Linked DNA regions of Homo sapiens: all the other regions are linked to region 5. The links are contacts of gene promoters, found by promoter capture Hi-C in blood cells and fetal thymus (Javierre and others, 2016). All regions are on one chromosome and are shown on one strand. Each heading gives the region's core, a stretch centred on a gene start or on the middle of the fragment in contact. The rest is flanking DNA. Distances are from core to core; before and after follow the strand shown. Region 1 overlaps MRM3 (mitochondrial rRNA methyltransferase 3). Region 2 overlaps GLOD4 (glyoxalase domain containing 4). Region 3 overlaps DOC2B (double C2 domain beta). Region 4 overlaps TLCD3A (TLC domain containing 3A). Region 5 holds the start of LIAT1 (ligand of ATE1).

Region 1 (2,700 bases), core at 126-2,625, 370 kb after region 5:
AAGCAGCCCCGCAAGGCACCATCTGAGGCCAGTGCCCAGGAGCAACGAGAGAAACAACCGCTCGAGGAGTCCGCATCCCGCGCTCCCAGCACCTGGGAAGAGTCTGGGCTTCGCTACGATAAAGCTTATCCCGGGGACAGGAGGCTGAGGTGATGTGGTTCTTGAGCCTGTCGAATGTTCTCGTTTCCCTTCCCGTCGCACAGCGGAACCTTAACCTCCTTCCGATGGAGGACTTCTTCCAGTACAGCCCGCTGGTTTTTGTATTATGCACAGAGGGCCGAATAAGCGTCTTTGGAATTAGCTTCTGTTTCTCCTTAGCTCTTTGTTGTTGTTTTTGTTTCACCATGTTAGCCAGGCTGATCTGGAACTCCTGACCTCAGGTGATCCGCCCGCCTCGGCCTCCCAATGTGCTGGGATTACAGGCGTGAGCCACCGCGCCCGGCCCTCTCCGTAGCTCTTTATTTCTGTTACAACTAAGCGTGTCTCAGTAACAAGGATGTTGATAGTTACCTGTTTTTTTTTTTTATTTCCATCTACAGCAGTGTAATGACAATAGTAAAGTCCAGGCCATTTCGGGAAAAACAAGGGAAGATCCTGCTGGAAGGTCGCAGGCTCATTTCAGACGCTCTCAAGGCTGGAGCTGTGCCAAAAATGTTCTTCTTTAGCCGTCTAGAATACCTAAAGGAGTTGCCAGTCGATAAGCTGAAAGGTGTCAGCCTCATTAAGGTGAAATTTGAGGATATCAAGGATTGGTCCGACCTCGTAACGCCACAAGGAATAATGGGTTAGTGATTACCCAGTGTATCTTTTTTTTTTTTTGTCTTGTTCTGTCACCCAGGCTGGAGTGCAATGGCGCGATCTCGGCCCACTGCAACCTCCGCCTCTCGGGTTCAAGGGATTCTCTTGCCTCAGCCTCCGCAGTAGCTGGGATTACAGGCGTCTGCCACCATGCCCGGGTGATTTTTGTATTTTTAGTAGAGGTGGGGTTTCACCATGTTGGCCAGGCTGACGTCGAACTTGTGACCTCAGGTGATCCTCCTGCCTCGGCCTCCCAAAGTGCTGGGATTACAGGCGTGAGCCACCATGCCTGGCCTTACACAGTGTATCTTAAGGTGTGGAGACCTAGGATTAATTTCTCATACTTGTCTTAGGACAGCAGCATTGAAATGAAATTCAAAATGTTACAATTAGAAAAATATAATTCTCAAACCTGTGTATCTTAGAGTATTTTCAATGGAAATTGAAACCCGTTTTTCACTATCATTTGTGTTGTGGCTCTTTATGGTCTCTAGGAAGAACCACTATTCCTCAAACCTTCTATTTTTTAGATTACTTCTTCAACTTTCTATGTCAGATTAAAAATTAAGAAAGCGTTTACTGAAAGATTGAGCCCTTCATTTTTGCAAAACCTCTGCCAATGTGGTGATAACTGTCAATAAACTGCTTATTCCAGAAGCAGATCTAAGAAGCGAGGTACAAGCCACAATTTACTGCCCCGTTTAGCCCAATAAACAGAGAACCTTGTCTTCTAGTCTGTTCCTTCATTTGGCTGAATCTGACTTAACCTTATGTAACTCCGATGTTGATTAGCAGTTACAAAGTCTTTGGTCTAAATATGAGAAGATAAGTTTTTCATACGTTTTTGACATGGGAGTTTTAAGATATGAAAACTGAATCCTTGAACTGCTGAGAGAGGAGATTCTGGGGAACCATCTCTTGTCTCTGTAACCCAGTGAGTCACAGGGATCTGTGCCTCTGCACTCAGAGCTCTTAGATCCTAGGATGGGGACTTGGATTACTAAAGTACCTAGAATTACTCATGCTAAGTAACCATATTCTCACTAGCTACAGCCCTCTAATCCACACGCCATGCTTCAGTGAAAGTGTTATTCATTTTTACCGTGCTTGTCACTTGGGGCAGGTGTGCTCACAGTGGCCAGCCCATCTTGAACTTGTGCTTGTCACTTGGGGCAGGTGTGCTCACAGTGGCCAGCCCATCTTGAACTTGTGCTTGTCACTTGGGGCAGGTGTGCTTACAGTGGCCAACCCATCTTGAACTTCATCATCATACCTGCTTTCATCATTTCCTGGCTTATCCTTATGTTACTATATTTTAGATTTGAGGGCAGGGAATAAGGGAGAAATGGATAGGAACTGGCAGCACCTGTCAGGCTTTAGACAGACACTCCCCAGAATCCAGCGACATAAGTAGGGCCTCCGTATAGTGGGTTCTCATCACCACAGACATCCAAGTAGAAGTAAAGGACTTCTAAGGTCCTCAGCCCTACTGAATGGCTTTTGGCCATCTGTGACTCCGAAGTGGAGGCTCTCTCACAGCACACAGACGCCTAATACCCTTCCATTGCCTTCAGTGGTGGATAGGCTTTTTACCTGCACCATCTTTTAGAAAGAATCCTAAATCTTTGATTGTATCATGTTTCAGTACAAGTACTATTTCATTCATCTCCTGACTTCAGTCAGTAGCCCATTTATTGTAGCAATCATATACGACAAAATACTAGTAAGATTCAAAAAAACTGTACAGTCCCTTGGGAGCAGACTACAAAGGGATTGAATATTTGATAATTATACATAAAGAGTTTAGGGTAGTGCTTGGCTTAAAAAAAAAAGCTTACTAAAAGGTTATCATTATCACCTCTACCAGTAAACATGGTGATTCAAAAAGAAACTTGTGGATAT
Region 2 (2,847 bases), core at 23-2,522, 350 kb after region 5:
ATAATTCCATTTCGAGTGATTAAAACCTATTTGTTGTTTAGAACCAAACAAAACTACAAGAAAACATTTTCAAAACCTTTTTTTTCAGGCTGAAGAAATCGTTTAATCCATTTTAAAGAAATCTCACATGATGTTCTGTCGGGATTAAAAATATACACGGAAAAAAATAAAACAAAATATATACACAGAAAGAAGCTCGCACAGAGTCAGGCGTGCAGCAACGTCACACACTCATTCCTTTCTGTTTCCTCTGGACACTCAAAATGTGAAAGCAAGTAAGAGGGGGGTGGTTAACCAAACCTTTTGGTCCAAGGAATAAAATTTCTTTAAAAAATTTAAAACGTCAAAACCTGCCAGAATAAGACAATAGAAGAGCGTATCGTCAGGCGCTGGGAATGGCACCACGACAAGGCATTAATGTGGATTCACTTGCACAGCTGCTCTCATAAAAGCTACACGATTCAGAGGTAACCCTAACTATCCGCAATCCCAACCAAAGTCATGTTCATGCCGCTGTCCTAGTCTGGACAATCATCTGTCACTCATCCAACACAGTTATATACAGAATGCGCAGTCCCAGCAACAGTGTAGATTACAGCAGGCGTTCTCTACCTGGACTCATGATTGGATTTCATTTCTAAATTACATCAGAGCTTTCAAAGATTGAAATACACAAATCTGCACTACCCAAGCCTCCTTGCCTGTACGGGAAACAAATCAGAAGAGCATTTATTGGGAACTGACACGTCAGGCCTCACAGGTGCTGGGCAGGAATCACAGAGGCTTGCTCTGCATCATGTCTTCCGTTAACCTGAAGCTTTGGGTTTATTGTGTTTGGCAAACCACTCGTCACTTTTATCTGCTGCCATTGCCTGTAAAATAGAAATAGAATATACACTGACTCCAAGCCTGAAAAACAAAAGACATAGCCCACTTTATATCTCACTGTACTGACCACAATAAAAAAAATTAACATTAAAAAAAGGACCCAAACCCCCGCTCCAAAAAAAAGAGAAGAGAAATAAAAAAAATTTTTTAACATTTAAAGAGTATTAATCCAGTACAGAGTGTTATGTTCAATAAGGCAAGAGATACTGGTGATAATGAGCAACTGTGGATCCTCACTCGGCAGAGTCAAGGGCAAACCAAGCCTGTAGCCAGGAAGTGTGGCTGGCGGACCAACGAGGTCAGGGACCCGCATGCCAGGCGGTAGGATCTCTGGTAAAAGAGCAAGTCCTGCCACTCACAGCATCTGGGCAGACGCTCAAGAATCTTTAGTGTCATGAAACTCAGTCTGATAGTGAGGCCAAATATGAAACTCTACGTGATGTTTTAGTGATGAAGCCTGGAATGATTCCTTTTTCGTAAGTCTCCTCCCGGCCTACTCTTCTGATGTTGGTTCTGTTTAGTTTGGGCATCTTAATTAAAAAGGAAGCCTTAAGCCGTGCCCAGTGGTCACACCTATAGTCACAGCCACTTGGAGGCTGAGGCCAGAGGATCACGTGAGCTCAGGAATTCGAGTTCAGCCTGTGTAACAGAGTGGGACCCCGTCTCATATACATACATACAGATACAAATAAAAATAAATGAATAATACAAAGCCTTAACAATAATGTTTTGGTTCCACAAGCATCCCTTTCGTTGTTTAGTAAGGACAAACACTCATTTATGTAGTCAAAAAGAGCCAGGTACCACGCTGGGTTCAGATGTGGCAGCAGAGACAGTCGGAAGCTTTGAGGAGTGTGCAGAACAGCTGAGAACTCAGATATGGAAACAAGTATTTTGCATGACAGAGTGTGTGTACGCATGTGTGTGTCTTGAAGCATTTGCTATAATATCTACCTCAGCAGGAAGTCACAAGATGAGGTGGCAATTGAAAAAGAAGAAACAAATATATTTATTATTTAGAAACAGTGAAGGTGAAAGTGGCTGTCCTAGGTAGTGTGACTCAGAGTTGGACCGTTTCATTTCTAAAAAATCTTAGTACTATCTGATTTATTATCTTGATGAAAATAAGAATTTAAAAATCAAAGATATGCTTAAAAAAACCACAAGTCACAAATATGCACGTTTCTGTCTTTTAGGAGCCATAAAAAGTGGGAGGAAAGAACAACTAAATTATTTGGAGAACCTAAGAAAGCTTTTTTTCTTTTTTGAAATGGAGTTTTGCTCTTGTCGCCCAGGCTGGAGTGCAACGGCGCCATCTCGGCTCACTGCAACCTCTGCCTTCTGGGTTCAAGTGATTCTCCTGCCTCAGCCTCCCAAGTAGCTGGGATTACAGGCGTACACCACCGTGCCTGGCTAATTTTTTGTGTTTAGTAGAGACAGGGTTTCACCATGTTGGTCAGGCTGGTCTGGGACTCCTGACCTCAGGTGAGCCACCCGCCTTGGTCCCCCAAGGTGCTGGGATTACAGGGGTGAGCCATCGCGCCCGGCTGAACCTAAGAAAGCTTTTAAGTGTTGAAGGACAAGTAAAAGAGGAGAGGGAAAAAACCCTTTGGGTTGGATGCAAGAAGAAGTATCTTAGCTAATATAACCAGTTCAGTGGGACTGGAATAGGGATGAGTTAGGGGACTTAGGGAGGCAGGTGGGAAAGAAGGTCAGAGGGTAGAGAATGTCCAAAAATGTCACATGCTCTGTCAGAGAGTTTGAAATTTATCTCAGAGGCAAGAGAGAGCTATCGGATTAAACGGTTTTAAAAATTACTGGCTGTTTGCTTTGGGACAGACCGTAAGTTGACAATGAGGCCTTTCAAAGGGAAAGCTGATAGGCAGAAGACATTTCAGAGGTAGAACTCACAGCTCTTGGTGACTAATAGCTAAAATAATTTAAGGATGAGGAGAAATA
Region 3 (2,700 bases), core at 50-2,549, 260 kb before region 5:
AACTGGGGAACTCATCAACAACAAACTTGTGGTTTACCCACACAATGGAAGACCACTTAGCAACAAAAAGGACCAAACTCCTGGTACATGCAACTGACAGATGAATCTCAAACGCATTCCTCCGTGTGAAAGAAGCCGGACTCACAGGGCAACACACTATCTGACTGTTTCATGGGAAAGTCTGGAAACGGCAACACCATTGAGACAGAAAACAGGTGAGTGGTTGCCTGGGGCCAGGGAACTTTCTGGGGTCATATTCTCTGTGTTGATTCTGGTGGTGGAAACAAGACTGTCCCAGCCTGGGTGATACAGCGAGACCCCATCTCTACCAAAAAATTAAAAATTAGCTGGGCATGGTGGTGCATGCCTGTAGTCCCAGCTATTCACAGTGCTGAGGTGGGAAGATGCTTGAGCCCAGGAGTTCAAGGCTGCAATGAGCTATGATTGCGCCACTGCACTTTGGCCTGGACAACAGAGCAAAACCCTGTCTCTAAAAAAAGAAAAGAAAAGAAAAACTCACTGGATATGAATGATACAGGTTGAGGATCCATTATCTGAAATGCTTGGACCAGATGTTTTGAATTTTGGATTTTTTCATATTTTGTAATCTTTGCAGTATATTTACCAGTTCAGCATCCCTAACTCAAAAATTCAAAAATCTGAAATCCCAAACGCGCCAATAAGCATTCCCTTTGAGCGTCATGTCGGTGCTTGGAATGTTTGGGGTTTTGGATTTACAGCTTTGGGACGCTCAACCTGTACCTCAATAAACCTGATTTTAAAAAAGTTTGGGGGGATTCCCCTAAGCCCGCCACCCGGAGACAGCGGATTTCCTTAGTTACTTACTATGCTCCTTGGCCATTTCTCTAGGTATTGGTATATTGTGTCTGCTGTGAACTGTCCTTGGCCTGTTTGGTGACGGGTGAGGAGCAGGGACAGAAGGGTCCTGCGTGCCCTGCCTTCACAAGCCCCTGGAAGGAAAGTTGTTTTGGGATCTCTGCACCCTCAGCCTGGACAACTTGTGCCCATCTGGTGACCCCTCACTCAGCCACCAGACTTCCACGACAGGCTCCAGCCTCGGCACCTTCAGCCATGGACAGTTCCGCCAGCGTTGCCCTCTGTTCTGCTGTTTTCTCTACCAGAAGTGCCCTTCCCTCCTCACCTGACCACTCTGGGGAAATCCCTCAGCACCCTCCCTGAGCATACCCTACTCTGGCACAAGCCCACCCTGCAAAGCCCCTGAGGCCCGCCCTGTGGCGTCTCTCCCTCCCTTGCTGTCAGGACAGTGGTCCTGGCCACCGGGGCTCACGGAGCCGCCCTGTGCCGTGTACCTCTGAGCCCTCTGCACAGTGCCTTCTGCTTGCCTGTGGCTTTGAGAAGAAACCCCTTCTGGTTATACATAAGACAGCCAGAGAAGGGAGTTGCCCAGGGTGGCACAGCACGTTGCTGCCAGTTACTGCCATTTTCACGGGCATGAAATGGAGATAACAACAGGAGCGACCGCACAGGCTGCTGAGCGCGTCACACGCAGCCATCGCGCAGCTCAGGGATATTACGTGTAACTCGACATGTCAGCGATTGTCACAGGCACTGCTACTCCTGGGGTTTTCCATCAAACCCTCAAGAGCTGGGCCTGGGGTCAACTTCCGGCCTGGGGAAACTGGGGCAAGTATCACCAGAGATGAGCTTTATAAAAATAATGGTGCTAGCTGGGCATGGTGGCTTGCACCTGTAATCCCAGCACTTTGGGAGGCCGAGCTAGGAGGATCGTTTGAGTCCAGCAGTTTGAGACCAGCCTGGCCAATACGGCAAAACCCAGTCTCTACAAAAAATACAAAAAACAACTAGCCAGGCGTGGTGGTGCACACCTGTAGTCCCAGCTACTCAGGAGGCTGAGGGGGAAGGACTGCTTGAGCCCAGGAGTTTGAGGCTGCTGTGAGCTGTGATCGCATCACTGCATTCCAGCCCGGTGACAGAGTGAGTCACTGTCTCAAAAAAGAAAGGAAGAAATAAAGAAAACAAATAAAAATAATAGTGCAGACAAAAGGCCTTGACCCATCTAGCTTTGGCCCTCAGCATCAACCGCTAGATACGTCCCTCCCTTTCTTCTGGGGCACAGGTCACACTCTCTTCCAGGTCTAGGATGCAGCTGAGGGGTGCCCCTCTTACCATCTAATCTGTGCCCTTATTTCCTCTGCTTTAGTGAGGAAGAGGCCCCTGGTCCATGAAGGGGCCTTTCAGAGACGGGGACCCCTGAGGAGCCCCGAGCAGCAGCCGTCGTGTCTCACCCAGGGTGTCTGAAACAGATGTGGAGGTCTCGGGTGAGGCGTGGCTCAGATACAGGGAGTGGCCCACAGCTCGGCCTGTCTTTGAAAGGCCACGTGACCTGGCCCACGGCTGGCAGGTGGGACCCAGCTGCAGGGGTCCAGCAGCACCCACAGCAGCCACCTGTGGCAGGGAGGAGCTTGTGGTACAGTGGACAGGCCCTGCCCAGATGGCCCCCCGCCTGCCTGTGGAAGTTGACCAGACCATCTGTCACAGCAGGTAAGACTCTGCTTTCTGGGCAACCCAGCAGGTGACCCTGGAATTCCTGTCCATCTGGCAGGTGGGCATTGAAACTGGTTTAAAAATGTCACACCATAGGCCGGGCACAGTGGCTCACGCCTGTAATCCCAGCCCTTTGGGAGGCCAGGGTGGGTG
Region 4 (2,700 bases), core at 184-2,683, 330 kb after region 5:
TGGTGTGGGACGCCGTCATCCTGTCTGAATTTGCCTCTGGATCCTAGGGCTTGGACCATCAAAGTGCTGTTGCCACGGAAGCAGCGGTACAGTAGTCTGCGCTTGCCTATTGAGCGTCCTTTGCCCGTCACAGTTACCCTTTTCAGTAGCCCTCGTTGGAATTTTCCTTCTGGTGGTTTCTTAACCTCCACTTACTTCCCCTTTTCGTTTCGTCATCCGCAGAGGCTCCGGGGAGACCTTGGGGACTTCTTTGTCGGCTGCATCTTCACGGCAGAACTGAGCACTCCGTTTGTGTCGCTGGGCAGGGTTCTGATTCAGGCATGTATGAATGAAATGACAGAGAGTGTGAGGGTTCTGATTCAGGCATGTATGAATGAAATGACAGAGAGAGTGAGGGTTCTGATTCAGGCATGTATGAATGAATGGCAGAGAGAGTGAAGGTTCTGATTCAGGCATGTATGAATGAATGGCAGAGAGAGTGAGGGTTCTGATTCAGGCATGCATGAATGAAATGGCAGAAAGAGTGTGGGAGGGAGTGGATTCTGCTTTTCCTTCGGAGATGGTGGGTGTGGAGAAATCCCTAGTGCCAGGAGAGTGGGATGAGAGATCCTTCAACAGCCTTAAAGGTCAGCTGGTCATCTCAGCCAGTGGGGGTGAAATTGTAGGTTTGATCTAAGTTTGATAGTTTGATACAGCTCATTCTATTTTTTCCCTGGTTACACACATACTTTAATCCACGGTTCCTGTACTCCTGTCAGCTGGGTGGCCTGGGTCAAATTCAAAATCACTATTGGAGAAAATGAGGTTATTTGCACATCTCAATATGATAGTGTTCAAGAATGTCTTCTCCAAGTGTTAGAAAACTAGACAAACGTCTGGGCGCCAGGGAATCTGACAGCCAAGGTCTTGATGAGCACCTGCACCTGTGTGGCATTTACTGTGGTGGGACTTGGGCCCGTCGCTCCCTGATGCCCAGCTTCTTGGTGACCTTACCTTTTTCCTTCCTCTTCTATTGCAGCTAAAGCAGCAGCACACCCTTCTGTACAAGGTGAATGGAATCCTCACGCTGGCCACCTTCCTTTCCTGCCGGATCCTTCTCTTCCCCTTCATGTACTGGTCCTATGGCCGCCAGCAGGGACTAAGCCTGCTCCAAGTACCCTTCAGCATCCCATTCTACTGCAACGTGGCCAATGCCTTCCTCGTAGCTCCTCAGATCTACTGGTTCTGTCTGCTGTGCAGGAAGGCAGTCCGGCTCTTTGACACTCCCCAAGCCAAAAAGGATGGCTAAATGCTCCTGGGAGTCAGGCGCAGCCTCACACCAGCTGCCTCCTCCACTCAGCATTCCATGGACCAAATTGTGCCCTGGGTAGCCTCAGACTTTGGGTATTGATAAGCCGATGGATTTGAGTTTTTCTAAAGAATATTCATATTACCTCCTTCTTCTAACTTGCCCTATTTGCAAAAGCACTTTTGTAGTAACAACTATTGGGTCCTGTCAGACCTCCACGGACAGCAAAGTGGTTTTAATGCAAGCCCAAGGATCCTTCTTAAGGTCTTATCTCAAGAGCTCTGGGAGGTGGAAGCATGGGGTGGGATCGGTGGACCAGGGTGGTAAGTGTCTGCACATCTGCCTGTCCCTGTATCAGCGGCTACCCACCTTCCAAACCACTCAGGACAGTACCCGTGGCACTGGGCCCGCAGAAGCAAGGGATGACTTGGTTCTTGGAAGTAATGTCGTCTTGTGACATTGGCCTGGGACAATCATTGTGGGTAGGTAGTTATTGATCGTTTACTAGATAACCCATTGGTTCTTTGCCTCATCCTCTCATCCATGGGTCAGAGTTGAATTCTTATGTCTATAGACTTCCAATCAGAAGTCTCACTGGTGGGGCTGGGGGTGGGGGCAGGCAGGAGGCATGGATGGGAACCTGAGTAGGTAGTGTGGCCAAGAGATCAGCACAACCTTTGCAGGCTGACTTGCTAAGTCTGACAGTGACAAACTTGTGAGCTTACTGCAGTCAGTCACAGAGGCTGTTCTTTTTCACACACCCCTTCATGCCCGGCTTTCCCCATATCCACATGCAGAGGGCGAGCTCATAAAACTACAGGGAAGCGTGAAATGATGGCTTTGGTAGCTGTTTACTGGGTAACCCCACTGTGACACTGTCCTTTTCATGTGATGTGGAAACCTACTTCTGTCCTCCAAACCATGAAATGTGTCATCTAGACTGCAGAGTACTTGAGTGCTTTGCCTCCCGATATGCCAGAGCTTGTGGTCCAAAGCCCATTCCTGTGTGTCCGTCCTGCCATTTAGCCACAGAAGGCTGCGGAGTGAGGCGGCAGCTAGCCTGGCCAGTGGCTGTCCCGTGGACCGACACCTGCGCCCCCTTCTGCAAGCAGGATTTTCTGGTGCCAACACTCATTCATCATTCCCGATCAACTAGGATGAATTTAAGACTGTGCTACCATGTGTTCTCAAGTGGTAGTTTAAAAAGTGGATTTTTAAAGTGCCTTTCAATTGTCTGTGAACGTCTAAAGGACTGATTTGTCTCATTTTGACTGTTGAGTCTTTAATGGGTGCCATTTAAAAAACAAAATGCTATTTTTTAATTGTCTTTTTTTTTTAACTATCAGTGTATCTTTAAAAGTCACCCTTACGGTGATTAAATTGCACTAACATTCCCAACTTATTCTCATTTG
Region 5 (2,700 bases), core at 104-2,603:
GCCACTGCATTCCAGCCTGGGCAACAGAGGAAGGCTCTGTCTCCCAAAAAAAAAAAAAGAGAGAGAAAGTCTTGCTTTGTTACCCAGGCTGGACAGCAGTGGTGCGATCTCGGCTCACTGCAGGCTCAAGTTCCTCCACAAGTGCCCCTCAGCGCAGCTGGTTAATTTTTTGTAGAGATGGGGTCTCACTACGTTGCCCAGAATGGGCTCAAGCGATCCACCCACCTTGACCTCCCAAAGTGTTGGGACTACGGGTGTCAGCCCTGCACAGAGCCCCACAAGAGTTTAGATCTTGATGTAAATTGTGATGAGGAAGCAATGGAGGACTTTTTGGCTTTTTATGTTTTGTTTTTCATCACTGGAGACTTTTAGCAAGAGAGTGAACGGTTTGGTTGTTTTTAAAAGTTTGTTCTAGCAGCTGTGCGGAAAAAGAGTTCGTGGGGAAGGTTTGAAAGCAGAGACCATTCAGGAGAGGACCCAGAAGTCCCAGTGCCAGACACGGCAGTCGGCCCCAGCCTGGGTAAGGGACAAGGGAGAGGGTAGGGGACACGGAAGCCCACCAGGTTTCCAGCCAGTCCAGCGGTTTTGTTCACTAAAGTGGAAAACCATGAAGAAGTAAGTTTGTTTTGGACACATTGGCTTTGAGAGTCCAGGGTAGATGTACGAGGCTGAAACTCAGGCAATAAAAATTGAGGGGAGAATACACAGCATTTAAAAAGGTACAGGAGGCCGAGCACGGAGGCTCATGCCTGTGATCCCAGCGATCTAGGAGGCCGAGGCGGGAAGATCGATGGAGCCCAGGAGTTCGAGACCAGCCTGAAACCAAAAATCAAAACTCTTAGCCAGGCGTGGGGATGGGAGGCCAAGGCAGGAGGATCGAGGCACGGGACTGGACGAGATGAGTGTCAGCCCAGGGATTTAAAATCTCTCTGCCCACCCTCCCCTTCCTGCGGTCAACTGTCCAGATTCCAACAGACAAAAGCAAGCATGGGCGAACCACCGTGCGCCGCGGTCCCCGACAGAAGCACGCATGCGCACACCTCTGTGTGCGGAGGTTTCCGACAGACGCACGCATGCGCACACTTCTATGCGCGGAGGTCTCCGCAGACAGAAGCACGCATGCGCACATCGCTGTGCCGGTATCGCCAACAGATGGAAGCACGCATGCGCGCACCGCTGCGTACCTAGCACTCCGACAGATGTACGCATGCGCACAACGCTCTGTTCTCGAGATCCCCGACAGAAGCACACATGCGCACACCGCTGTGTGCCAAGGTCGCCAAAAGACGGAAGCACGCATGCGCACACCGCGGTCCGTGGGGCACCGGGCGGAAGCGTCCTGACTGCGCAGGCGCAGCAGGGGTGGTCGCCATGGAGACGCGTGGCCCTGGCCTGGCGGTCCGCGCTGAGAGTCGCCGATTAGTCGGCATCGGGCCTCGGGCGCCCCCGGGGCGGGTTGGGTTGCAGCCCAGCGGGCGGCTGGACCGCCGCGGTGGGGCGGGGACAATGGGGTACAAGGACAACGACGGCGAGGAGGAGGAGCGGGAGGGCGGCGCCGCGGGCCCGCGGGGGTCTAGACTGCCCCCCATCACAGGCGGCGCCTCCGAGCTGGCCAAACGGAAGGTGAAGAAGAAAAAAAGGAAGAAGAAGACCAAGGGGTCTGGCAAGGGGGACGGTAAGAGGAGCAGCTAGCCCGGCTGCGTCAGCTCCGGTTCCCTGGAGACTCTTTGGGGACCCACCCCCCATTTACCCTTCAGACCGGAAACAGAAGCTCAGTGGTCCCGGACCGAGGTCCTCCTGCTCCCCACACATGCCCGTCAGCAGCACGTTGATGCCCCAGCCCCACCCGTGGAGACCATCCACCAACTCTGCGGTCCCTTAGCCCCACACAGAGACCCCTACAGATATCCACCATTCCTAAGAGCCTTCCAGCCCCACACAAAGACACCCTCTCAACTTCCTAATCCCTCAGCCAAAACTGGCAGTCTTAAACGTCTGCGCCTTCCCCACAGAGGCCCTCCTCACAAGACACTTTCCCCACCCCAAACACATTGATGCCACATGAAAGGCCCTCACTCTCATGCACAGAGAAGGGCAGACTCCTGCCTCCCCTCCTCCCACCCTCTTGCGTTAAGGCTGCCTGCCTGTGGATGCGCGGTAGACACCCACACCCACAGACGTGTGTATTAAAGGTCCTCGCTGCATGGGCTCCCCCTCGCACCCACCAAGGGGCAGCCTTGGACTGCACAAACCCCATGACACCAGTCACTGTGACATCCTCCTATAATCCCTGACACCCTCAACCACTCCCCGCTTCATATCAGTGTAACACCCACAGTGAAACTAAAGGGCGGGGGACACCCTCAACCACTCCCCCCACCTTCTATCAATGTAACACCAACAGTGAAACTAAAGGGCGGGACGCAGTGGCTCACACCTGTAATCCGAGCACTTTGGGAGGCCGAGGTGGGAGGATCACTTGAACCCAGGACTTCCAGGCTGCAGTGAGCTATGATCGCACCATTGCACTCCAGCCTGGGCAACAAGCAAGACCCTGTCTCTCAAAAAAACAAACAAGAAAACTAAAGCACAGATCCCCCTCATGCACACACATTCCTAGTCTACACACACAGACTGTTAATACGTTATCCATTCGCGTGTGTAGTCATATGCAGGCAGGAATTGCAGTCTCTCTCAGGG

The links. The method cuts DNA at HindIII sites, captures the fragments that hold promoters and counts their contacts. A CHiCAGO score of 5 or more calls a contact.
Region 1: a contact is called between a fragment that was not itself captured here and the fragment with the promoter of LIAT1 in region 5, in 16 of 17 cell types (fetal thymus, activated CD4 T cells, total CD8 T cells and 13 more). The highest score is 11.2, in fetal thymus.
Region 2: a fragment that was not itself captured here is called in contact with the fragment with the promoter of LIAT1 in region 5 in 1 of 17 cell types (M0 macrophages); the score reaches 6.1 in M0 macrophages.
Region 3: a fragment that was not itself captured here is called in contact with the fragment with the promoter of LIAT1 in region 5 in 3 of 17 cell types (M2 macrophages, M0 macrophages and endothelial precursors); the score reaches 7.9 in M2 macrophages.
Region 4: a fragment that was not itself captured here is called in contact with the fragment with the promoter of LIAT1 in region 5 in 7 of 17 cell types (M0 macrophages, fetal thymus, monocytes and 4 more); the score reaches 6.7 in M0 macrophages.

Annotation. Positions count from the first base shown.
Region 1 is chr17:782,544-785,243 of GRCh38, forward strand. It overlaps MRM3 (mitochondrial rRNA methyltransferase 3), which reads left to right. Exons shown (of 4, transcript NM_018146.4): 1 at 1-149; 2 at 540-784. It also overlaps a transcript of GLOD4 not described here. Among named protein-coding and RNA genes, the nearest start is that of MRM3, 1.5 kb to the left of the region's middle. RefSeq lists enhancers at 1-117, 1-337. The HindIII fragment of the contact is 2,507 bases long and covers 123-2,629 here.
Region 2 is chr17:759,367-762,213 of GRCh38, forward strand. GLOD4 (glyoxalase domain containing 4) reads right to left here. Exons shown (of 9, transcript NM_016080.4): 9 at 1-872. The coding sequence ends at 807. Among named protein-coding and RNA genes, the nearest start is that of GEMIN4, 8.5 kb to the left of the region's middle. The HindIII fragment of the contact is 914 bases long and covers 816-1,729 here.
Region 3 is chr17:150,779-153,478 of GRCh38, forward strand. All of the region lies in intron 6 of DOC2B (double C2 domain beta), which reads right to left. Among named protein-coding and RNA genes, the nearest start is that of SCGB1C2, 15 kb to the left of the region's middle. The HindIII fragment of the contact is 3,739 bases long and covers 1-2,700 here.
Region 4 is chr17:740,283-742,982 of GRCh38, forward strand. TLCD3A (TLC domain containing 3A) reads left to right here. Exons shown (of 5, transcript NM_024792.3): 4 at 223-318; 5 at 1,019-2,686. The coding sequence ends at 1,288. Among named protein-coding and RNA genes, the nearest start is that of TLCD3A, 9.0 kb to the left of the region's middle. The HindIII fragment of the contact is 7,880 bases long and covers 1-2,700 here.
Region 5 is chr17:408,972-411,671 of GRCh38, forward strand. It overlaps LIAT1 (ligand of ATE1), which reads left to right and starts at 1,354. Exons shown (of 2, transcript NM_001013672.5): 1 at 1,354-1,675. The coding sequence starts at 1,372. The region is part of intron 2 of LOC105371430 (a long non-coding RNA gene); the gene reads right to left. RefSeq lists a silencer at 1,406-1,495. The HindIII fragment of the contact is 6,027 bases long and covers 1-2,700 here.